Linked DNA regions of Homo sapiens: region 1 is linked to region 2. Evidence: promoter capture Hi-C in 16 types of primary human blood cells and fetal thymus (Javierre and others, 2016). All regions are on one chromosome and are shown on one strand. Each heading gives the region's core, a stretch centred on a gene start or on the middle of the fragment in contact. The rest is flanking DNA. Distances are from core to core; before and after follow the strand shown. Region 1 overlaps SLC22A5 (solute carrier family 22 member 5). Region 2 holds the start of SHROOM1 (shroom family member 1).

The links. Contacts are between HindIII fragments. The CHiCAGO score rates a contact against its expected background, and 5 or more counts as called.
Region 1: a contact is called between a fragment that was not itself captured here and the fragment with the promoter of SHROOM1 in region 2, in 3 of 17 cell types (monocytes, fetal thymus and total B cells). The highest score is 8.8, in monocytes.

The regions. Positions count from the first base shown.
Region 1 is chr5:132,391,520-132,397,008 of GRCh38, forward strand. SLC22A5 (solute carrier family 22 member 5) reads left to right here. Exons shown (of 10, transcript NM_003060.4): 8 at 914-1,096; 9 at 2,157-2,292; 10 at 2,666-4,093. The coding sequence ends at 2,753. Among named protein-coding and RNA genes, the nearest start is that of CARINH, 17 kb to the right of the region's middle. The HindIII fragment of the contact is 5,582 bases long and covers 1-4,495 here.
Region 2 is chr5:132,826,961-132,832,363 of GRCh38, forward strand. It overlaps SHROOM1 (shroom family member 1), which reads right to left and starts at 3,687. Exons shown (of 10, transcript NM_001172700.2): 1 at 3,634-3,687; 2 at 501-647. RefSeq lists silencers at 3,056-3,365, 3,576-3,995. The HindIII fragment of the contact is 14,647 bases long and covers 1-5,403 here.

The DNA of each region.
Region 1 (5,489 bases), core at 455-2,954, 440 kb before region 2:
CCCTGAAAAAGTCTAGGAGAACATTTTAGGAAGAAGAAATGGCAAAGGCAGCGACCCTGAGCAGGGGATGAGCCTGGCATGTTTGAGGAGGAGGGAGAAGGGGAGGGGCCAGACCACTGAGAGGGCCTCACAGAGCCTTAGCAGGATTTTATTTCTGAAACTATCTTAGTATCCCACAGATGGGTGGGAGGTAGCCATTTCCAATAATTTATAGAACAGTTCATGGGCCCTCATCTCTCCCTCTCCATCACTGTGCCCAGAGACTTCAGTGTACCTGTAGATTTGGGAGCCTCTGATGGTCACTTTTGGGCCCATCAGGCTGAGAACACTGCACGGGAACAGCTCCCCATGGGATGTGGCAGGAGGAGCCCAGAACTGATGTAGAGGCTCACAGCTGAGCTCAGAGTGACCTTCAGGTCACACATAGCTCTCCCATCAGCACAGCACAGAGAGATTAGAAGATCAACTTGAGATTCTGATGGCCTATGATTTTTTTGAGGTCTGAGTGGGAGGAAAGCATGAAATGAGTTAGAACTGAATTCTCCATTCATCTAAACATCATGAGTTAATTCCATAGTGCCTGCAGTGTGAGGTTCTGGGGTGACAGTTAATCCCTGACAGACATGTCTTTAATGACTTATAGACTGGGAAGCAGGTTGATTGGACTATTAAGGAGCTTACTCTGGTGGTCTCCAGGTTGAGGAAAGTGCATGTCCTTATAGCTGCAGGTCCCAGCCTCCTTTCAGCAATCAATTTGGAGGGAAATCTTGGCTATAGCCCCTTCCCCCACAATAGGAAGTGATAGAAACTGACTCCCCAAAAAATTTGGGAAGAAAGTATGTTTGTTTTGCTCTCAATAGCTGCATGCCATGGGTTGGTACCTACTCCTACCCTCTTTCCTTTGCTTCTCCAGACTTGTATTATTTGGCTACAGTCCTGGTGATGGTGGGCAAGTTTGGAGTCACGGCTGCCTTTTCCATGGTCTACGTGTACACAGCCGAGCTGTATCCCACAGTGGTGAGAAACATGGGTGTGGGAGTCAGCTCCACAGCATCCCGCCTGGGCAGCATCCTGTCTCCCTACTTCGTTTACCTTGGTAAGTCCCATGAGCCAAGGGCACACTAGAGCAACGGGATGGAAGTACTAACTGGCTTGAATGTGAGCTGGAGGTTGCGTGTTAACAGGAAAACAAGTTCATACAGTACATGGGCTCCATCCAGTACTGGATCTTTGGCCGGGAAGGGTTCTTGTCCCAGTGCACTGGCCCTCACTTTCAAATGGAAAACAACCTATAGATTACCTAGAAATTGATGAGAATATTAGAGGGTTTGTTTCTGTTTTAGCCATCCCAGGCCTTCCATCAGAGACTACAATTCCTTTATCCTAAGAACCTACAGAGTGGTTTAGGGAGCCAGTGTGCTTAGTTGGAGAAATTTCTTGGAATCAGAGTTTAAAAGGAACATGAGGGGAAAGATGTCCATGCAAGAGGTCTGATGAACGGAAAATTATTATAACCTAGAGCACTATAGAGTGATTTTATCTTGTGTGAAGATCCACCCCATGCCATTTTATGTAGCAGGTCTCCAGTTTTCTCTTCTCAGAATTATGTCTTCATAGCACCTGTGGTTTCCTGCACATCCCTAGCCAGTACCTCTTTAGGGAGGGTGGCACCCACCTGAGAGTACTCAGAGTGCTTTGTGAACATGCTATGTAGATCTCAAAGCAAGCAAAAGCACCCTGCCTAATCTGAAGGCAGATCACATGGGCTGGGACACATCTGCAGAGGTGGAAGAGTTATTTCCATCCCTGGACAAGTACCTCAGGTTCCTTGGAAACCCAACCTTGGTAAATAAGAATAATCAGCATGGCCCAGAAATAGGAATAATCAGCATGGCCCAGCTCTTCTACTGCAACCGCCCCTTTGTACTCCTCCCCTGCATGGTGGAACACTGCTGGGCTCTGGGCATGCCTGTGCCAGCTCTGGGTTCTGAAACCTGTCTAGATGCCAGATTCTAATCTGACTGCTCAGACTGTGAGAGATGTGAGACCAAGAAGGAAAGTGATCCCCTTCCAGAGTCCTGGGAGCATAAAGGGGTAGATGAGAGACCAAGTCTAACTGCAGCCCTGGGCCTGAGGCTCCGTCTGCTTTGCCATAGGTGCCTACGACCGCTTCCTGCCCTACATTCTCATGGGAAGTCTGACCATCCTGACAGCCATCCTCACCTTGTTTCTCCCAGAGAGCTTCGGTACCCCACTCCCAGACACCATTGACCAGATGCTAAGAGTCAAAGGGTAAGAAGACCTCCTCTGTCAGTGTTGATGCACTGGGTCTGGGTCTGGCCAGGTCTCAGGAGCCCCTCACAATAGAGCTACTCGCAAACTCCCTCTCACAGACACCATGGACTAGTTTAGCCATTAAAGGGTTGTAAATGGCAAGGTGCTTACTTATAGCCCATCCTCTCTGGTCTGTTCCTGTGTGGACATGTCACTATACACATCTCCATGGCAGTAGCCGCACTGGATAACTCAGAGGCTAGAAGAAACCTTTCAGAATCTGCTGCAGGATTCTCTTCCCAGGGAAGATATCCTCAGTTCTTGTTTGTTTGGAGACTGGGAGGCATCTTTTTAAAATGTGTTACTGACATATTTTTGCTTGTTTTTATAGAATGAAACACAGAAAAACTCCAAGTCACACAAGGATGTTAAAAGATGGTCAAGAAAGGCCCACAATCCTTAAAAGCACAGCCTTCTAACATCGCTTCCAGTAAGGGAGAAACTGAAGAGGAAAGACTGTCTTGCCAGAAATGGCCAGCTTGTGCAGACTCCGAGTCCTTCAGTGACAAAAGGCCTTTGCTGTTTGTCCTCTTGACCTGTGTCTGACTTGCTCCTGGATGGGCACCCACACTCAGAGGCTACATATGGCCCTAGAGCACCACCTTCCTCTAGGGACACTGGGGCTACCTACAGACAACTTCATCTAAGTCCTAACTATTACAATGATGGACTCAGCACCTCCAAAGCAGTTAATTTTTCACTAGAACCAGTGAGATCTGGAGGAATGTGAGAAGCATATGCTAAATGTACATTTTAATTTTAGACTACTTGAAAAGGCCCCTAATAAGGCTAGAGGTCTAAGTCCCCCACCCCTTTCCCCACTCCCCTCTAGTGGTGAACTTTAGAGGAAAAGGAAGTAATTGCACAAGGAGTTTGATTCTTACCTTTTCTCAGTTACAGAGGACATTAACTGGATCATTGCTTCCCCAGGGCAGGAGAGCGCAGAGCTAGGGAAAGTGAAAGGTAATGAAGATGGAGCAGAATGAGCAGATGCAGATCACCAGCAAAGTGCACTGATGTGTGAGCTCTTAAGACCACTCAGCATGACGACTGAGTAGACTTGTTTACATCTGATCAAAGCACTGGGCTTGTCCAGGCTCATAATAAATGCTCCATTGAATCTACTATTCTTGTTTTCCACTGCTGTGGAAACCTCCTTGCTACTATAGCGTCTTATGTATGGTTTAAAGGAAATTTATCAGGTGAGAGAGATGAGCAACGTTGTCTTTTCTCTCAAAGCTGTAATGTGGGTTTTGTTTTATTGTTTATTTGTTTGTTGTTGTATCCTTTTCTCCTTGTTATTTGCCCTTCAGAATGCACTTGGGAAAGGCTGGTTCCTTAGCCTCCTGGTTTGTGTCTTTTTTTTTTTTTTTTTAAAACAGAATCACTCTGGCAATTGTCTGCAGCTGCCACTGGTGCAAGGCCTTACCAGCCCTAGCCTCTAGCACTTCTCTAAGTGCCAAAAACAGTGTCATTGTGTGTGTTCCTTTCTTGATACTTAGTCATGGGAGGATATTACAAAAAAGAAATTTAAATTGTGTTCATAGTCTTTCAGAGTAGCTCACTTTAGTCCTGTAACTTTATTGGGTGATATTTTGTGTTCAGTGTAATTGTCTTCTCTTTGCTGATTATGTTACCATGGTACTCCTAAAGCATATGCCTCACCTGGTTAAAAAAGAACAAACATGTTTTTGTGAAAGCTACTGAAGTGCCTTGGGAAATGAGAAAGTTTTAATAAGTAAAATGATTTTTTAAATAACAGCAACTGCCTAGAATCTTTATTTCTAGAATTTAGTGAGCCTGTGCCACACTGTCATCTGCCTTTTCTCTGTATCAGCTTGGGCTAATTCTAGCAATGGTTGGGATTAATCTCTAAGACTAAGATTTGATTCTTGTGCACTAGAATTCTTCACTTTATTAATTGACTATGGGCTGAGCCAGCCTTCTTGCACAAATGTATCTTGGGTTCCCTTGAAAGTAGAGACTGAGACAAGTGCTTCTGTGCAGTTAAGCAGTTTATGCTTTGGGGACAAGATTCCAGGGAGCAGCAATAAAGGACAGGAGGAGAACAGGGAAGGAGGGAGGCTGAATACAAAGATGCATTTTCAGGTTGACTAGCACCAAAGGCAGGGATGCTCCATCCAGCAAGGACTTCAGAAGAAGCTTATGAAATGCATCTCAACACCATCTGTACCTTGAGTAAAAGGGGGAAGCATTTCTCTGTTGGCATCCATTTGTAAAGGCAGCCCACAGGTGTCAGCTCCACATGTTTCCAGGCTGCACATGCATGAGTCCCAAATAAGTTCTGTCCCGTGGGTAGAAAGCAAGAGAGAATACATTGCAGGGCTGAAGTAGGGGTTGCCAGAGCCCATCAGAACTGGTCACTGCAACAGTGGCTGGAGTAAGTGGTGGGCTGAGAGGATTGGGGGTTGAGTGTGGTGCACAAGAGGTGTCTTAATCTATATACAATTTGCACAGGGCATTTTGGGCTAGAAGGTGTGGATGGACCTGGGTAAAAAGCTCCAGTGTTGGATAGAAACTCAAGGGCATGTTGCATAACAAAACAAGCAGCATCAAACTTGGGGGAGAAGGAAGGCAGCACGTCTTCTGGAACACTGTTGGCTTCTCCACTCTCCTCAAACATGGTTCTGTGCTGGACTACTGATTAACTGTCTTCCCAGGGGCTCTAGAATCTGAATTGCAGTTCTGTCTACCCATTGTCCTGTAGCAGGAGTGAATAGTTTCTGCATTTTCTCTCTTATTCTCCATGCCACTGATTCCAGTCATTTGTGGCCTTCTGAGGGCAAAAACCATAATTACCTGAATGCTTAGAGCTCTTCATGTGGTGAGGCAAGAGCCCAAGTCACTTCCAGGGTTGAGCCAAGCATGTGGAATTCCAAGTCCTCTGTCTAAGCCTGTTGGATTCGTGTGTGGCTTGTTTCCCTTAGAGCCATGACTTTGGGAAGACTGAGTGTGTTATCAGACCAAGGATCTCCTCTGCTCCAGGAGAGAGGCATACACAAACTGTAGCCACAGGGGCAGAGTTGGTGAGTGATGAGGTGTTCAGTTAATGTGTATAACTAGAAACCAGCATACCCACAGAAATATAAAAGACAAAGAAAAGGAGGTGGAGGAACAACCCAGATTTTCTTAAA
Region 2 (5,403 bases), core at 2,437-4,936:
TCCAAGGAAGCCCACACTCCACTATGGGAAAGTCACCCCTACCTCCCCATACACTATTGGCAGATTCCAAAATAATCTGGCCCCCACTTCTCAAACTCTGCCTTTCGTCTAGGAATGATGGGCCGACCCCCATCTTTGCCCTGCTTCTATTCTTGCTTCTCCTGTAGGACTCAGCTTAGAGGTCTCCTCACTTTTTGGGACTCCTACAGTGTGCTGAGCTGACCCCCACCCCACACTGTCCCTGTTGGCTTGCTTCTGATTCCCTCCTCCCATTCCCACCCCTGAGCTTCCTGAGAATGGGCCCTGCTCTTCCTCATTGCTGCACTCTCAGTGCCCAGCAGAGTCCCTGGCATACAGTCAATGTTAAATATTTGGGCCGGGTGCAGTGGCTCACGCCTGTAATCCCAGCACTTTGGGAGGCCGAGGTGGGCGGATCACTAGGTAAAGAGATCAAGAGCATCCTGGCCAACATCGTGAAACCCCATCTCTACTAAAAATACCAAAAATTAGCTGGGCGTGGTGGCACACGCCTGTAGTCCCAGCTACTCGGGAGGCTGAGGCAGAAGAATCGCTTGAACCCGGGAGGCGGAAGTTGTAGTGAGCCGAGATCGCGCCACTGCACTCCAGCCTGGCGACAAAGTGAGGCTCTGTCTCAAAACAAAACAAAACAAAACAAAACAAAACAAAACCCCAAATATTTGCTGAATGTCAAGGGAAATAACAGATTTGCAGGGAGTAGATGTAGGGGTGGCCTTGGTAGAGAAGGAAGAGAGTTCCTTAGCTTCTGCGCACGCTTCTTCCCTCCCTATTAGTCTTTTCTGGGGAAGAGGACAGAATGGGTGAAGCACTTGCCACCATAGACACTGGCCAGGTTCCTCATGCAATATTAGGTACGAACAGAGCAGGCAAGCACAGCTTGGGGCAGGACTCACCAGAAATCAATCCCTTCTGGTCCTGGGAGGGGGATCAAGGGTAAGAGTTGAGTGGGTGTGCCTGGGTCAGGGTAAGAGAAATTTTGAGGCTTGGGAAAGGGCAGTGTTGAGGTTTGGGGCTCCCTATGAACTATGGAGACTTTTGGGCGCTGGCCTCCATTCTCTGAGCTGCTTGGTAGGGAGTGCAGAGTAGGGTGGCCCACGGCTAGGGTGAGGACCAAAAAGCAGGCTTATTTGAGCCTCCTAGACACTATCTGGAGCTCAGAGTCACCCTCCACCCACGTCCCTGAGGCCCAGGATGTTACAGATTGCTGGTTAGGGCAAGGATGGGGGTTAGTGGTAGGAGGATATGGTGTTTCCTAAAAGGGAAAGGCAGTACCTACAACATTCCCAGGAGAGGCTCTCAGCAGACCTAGGACCAGAACATCTTGATGTCACCCACCTGGGGGCATTTGTATATGCCTACTAAGCCCAGGAGCTTAGCCCTCACACTTAGGGTTGGGGACCTCTTTTGCAAAGTATTTCCACTCTAAACTTTAGGAGGACAAGAAACTACTCTGAGTAGCAGCTCCTGGGAGGACAGTCCCCTCATCTAGGAAGCCCACCCGACTGCTCAGACATTAGCCCTTTCTCTTCCTACTCTTTCTGAGTCCAGCTTGGGAGCACTAGCTCATGTCACCCATCCTGCCCATTTTGGCTTGCTGCAGCTACAGATGGGGATCACCAAACACAAGATGTTTCCTCAAAAGAGGTCTTGAAAATCTATGAAAATCTATCTTATTTGTGAGTTACTATGTTAAAGGATTCTGAATTCAGCAAATAAAAACAGCTTGAATGGGCAATAAAAATGTGTCTACACATGTGTTTCCTTATTGACTGTAACTTGTTGAAGATGCTTTTGCACTGGTGGCCCTATCAGGTTGATGTTCACGCAGGCTCCTCACAGTGGGTGCTTTGCAGAACCTACCATGCCAAGAGGGCCCAGCTGCTTTGGTGTGTTTTGGGGGGCCTCAGCACAAAACAACAAGGCATTTTCATACTTGTCTGGCTGCAGGGAGCCTCTTGCAGTCCAGCCAGCCCCTGTGGCTGGGGGTAGCCCTACCTTAGGGGTCCCTGCCTCAGTGGCAGTGGTACCTGTGGGCTGGGCTGTTATGCCTGTGCCGGCTGCTGAAAGGGAGTTCAGAGGTGGAGCTCAAGGAGCTCTGCAGGCATTTTGCCAAGCCTCTCCAGAGCAGAGGGAGCAACCTAGACTCCCCGCTAGAAAGACACCAGATTGGAGTCCTGGGAGGGGGAGTTGGGGTGGGCATTTGATGTATACTTGTCACCTGAATGAAGGAGCCAGAGAGGAAGGAGACGAAGATGAGATTGGCCTTCAAAGCTAGGGGTCTGGCAGGTGGAGGCACCAGTCTGAAAGGAGGAGCTGGGGCTGAGGAATTGTCAAGGGGGCCAGTGCTCCTTCAGTCTGGGCTTCATGGTGTCTGTGACAAGTCAGGCAGCAGTTGGGATGTGGCTCTGGAGTTCAGCAGGGGAGGGTAGACCAGGCAAGACCCAGGTTTTTAGTTAGAGGTTACTGGGGAAATAGCTGAAGACAGTTTCCGGTGGATAAAATCACACCAAGGCAATGGGAACAGATCCAAGTAAGGCGACCGAGGAGGCACAGGAGAACGGACAGCCTCAAATACAACGAATGATCAGGATTTACATCATACCTCCCTCAAGGCCACCTCACATCTGACCTCTCTGTGGAGGGGCTATCCAGGCCGCCCCTCCCAGCGGGTCTTCCCTCAGTACTGGGCTCACTGTGTAGGCGCTGTCTCCCTGTCAGACTGAGTTCCTGGGTACTGGACCACGTCTCAAAACCCAGTACCCGCAGCTGGGTCTGGCTAGGCGGACGTTCTGGGAAGTTCACCGGCTCTCCCTGTCCCCAGCGTCCCCCGTTCTCCCAGCCTGTCCGCGCTGACAGCGCACCCCACGCAGCATCCACGCTCCGAGTGTGCGACTGGTTTACGGGCTCATCGGTCGCTGCACCCCAGATGCAGAGTCTCTGGAGACCCGAGCTCCGTGCCATGCACAGGAAATGCAGGAAGCTGGCGACACCCGGGGAGAGGCGGCCGCGGGCGTGGACAGACCCGGTTACCTGGGGTTCAATCTCTGGGAGCCGAGGCACGGGAGGGAGAGAGGCGCAGGCCCCGGCGGCCGCAGGGGGCGGCAGAGACACGCGGAGCGGCTCGACAGCAGATGGCCGCAGCCCCGCGCAGTTCTGGGCCTTTCCCGTTGGGTTCACCGTCGGGGAAGGATCGCGCGCAGGGGACAGCGCGAGCCCGGGAGGGAAGGACCCGGCTTCTCCAGATGCTTGGCGACAAAGGGCAGGAGCGGAGGGTGGCGGAGTGAGACCGCGCTGCCCGCCGGCGCCACACGCGGCGCGCCCAGCCGCGCCCCTGAGCCGCGCCGCCAGCTTAGAGTGGGCCGCCTCTCCGCCCTGCAGCTCTGCAGCTGGGAGAGGCGCGCTGGGGTCCGACTCCACTGGCGCAACCTGACGCGGCGCCGAGCCAGACACGTCCCGGCCGAACGATGCCCGGGCTGCCCCGCGACCACCGCCTCGCCGCCCGCTCTTCACCCCCGTCCGCCCGCAGCCCCGCCGGCCTCCCGGGGGAAGCGGACCCAGCCGCCCGCTTCCCGCTCCCCCGCCCCCGCCGCGTACCTGAGGCTCCCGCCGAGACGCGCTCCTGGGCCGTCGCAGCCGCGCGGTGACATCAGAGCCCCGGGCTCTGACTCCGACCCCACCTCCAGGCTCCGGCCGCGGCCTCAGGGGAGGCGCCACGTCCGGCCGCGGGGGCGGGAGCCGCAGCCTCTTGGTAGCGTCCGCGCGCCGGCCCAGTCCCAGGTCTGAGGGTGGACAGTGCGTTCCCGCGCGGGCCACAGGCCTCTTGCCCCAGGCCGGAGAAACCTGAGCGAGGTGGTGGGAGGGCGACTACGGCGACCGCCCACCGGCCTCCAGCGCGTCCGTGATGCTCGGGGGCCGGGTCCCTCGGGGCCTGACACCTCCCTCGGTGGGGAGGTCCAGGGCGGGCCCTTAGGCGCCTGACGGCTACCCGCTTTCCCCCCCAAGCCCGGCCAAGAAAACAGAGCTGCCAGGGCCTCGTGCCTCCCACCTGTCCCGCTGAGTAACTCGGCCCTTGATCAACTCTACCCCCAGACCCCCATTTCCAAAACTCTTCCAGCTCTTTGACTCCCACCATGGGCTCTTGTCTCCTGTTCCCTGTCCCATTTCTTTCCATTTCTCCCACTACCCAGCATGGTCTGGGCCCTCCAGCCTGCTACCGGGGTGGGGGAGAGGGGGGCGGAGCACGGGGAAGCCCCTGGACTTGTGTGCACCTTAGCTGTCCTGAGTGTGTCCTTAGGGAGCTGGACATATGCATACCCACTAAGGCTGGACACTGGCGCTCGAGGCCCTCACCTTCCAGGATCTCCATTTTCCAAAGAACGCTCTGCCTGCACCTGCCACTGAGCTCTCCTTGCTGTGTCCTCAGGCTCCCCTGCCCCGACTTCCCAAACTCTGTCCTATGAATACCACTCTGCCAAGAAATGCTCCGTTCCTGAGAGGGGCTGGGGACCCTTTGATGAGCCTCTCCGGCTCTCAGGTCTCTGCCTTTGTCCTCCGCTGCCCTCCCGCTCCCACAGGATCAACAGGGCTGGGCTCAGGGGCTGTGTCCTCCCATGGTAGTATCCCTGGCAAATAAAGGTTTATTGGTGTTAATAACCAGGACTCTGAACTCTGGCCAAGAGTCAAGGTTGCCACTTCCTAGGGACACTGGGAGCCTGAGGAACTCTGTCTTCTTGGGTCTTCTTGGGTTCGGAGGCAGGAGACACCTGAGCCCGACTTCTGAGAGTGGTGCCCGCTGGGCCCTGCTCCTTCTTCAACACCATCTGGACTCAGGCACCAGCTTCAGCTGGAGCGCTAGGCTTTAAGACAGTGCCTAAGAACCTTTCGGCTTTGAAAGACTTTTGTTGTTTGTTTTGCTTTTTTGAGACAGAGTCTCCCTCTGTCGCCCAGGCTGGAGTGCAGTGGCCGGATCTCTGCTCACTGAAACCTGCGCCTCCCAGGTTCAAGCAATTTTCCCTGCCTCAGCCTCCCAAGTAGCTGGGATTACAGGCACCGGGCACCACGCCCAGCTAATTTTTGTATTTTTAGTAAAGACGGGGTTCGCCATGTTGGCCAGGCTGGTCTCAAACTCGTGACCTCAGGTGATCCACCCACCTTGGCCTCCCAAAGTGCTGGATTACAGGCATGAGCTACCGCACCCGGCCTGAAAGACTTTTAATATTTTTAAGACCCTGATCCACAGAGTCTCACAGCAGCATCAAAATAGAAGAAAGACAGCCCAGCAAACAACAACAAAAAATTTTTAATTGCTCATGTTGGCTGGGGCGGTGGCTCATGCCTGTAATCCCAGCACTTTGGGAGGCCAAG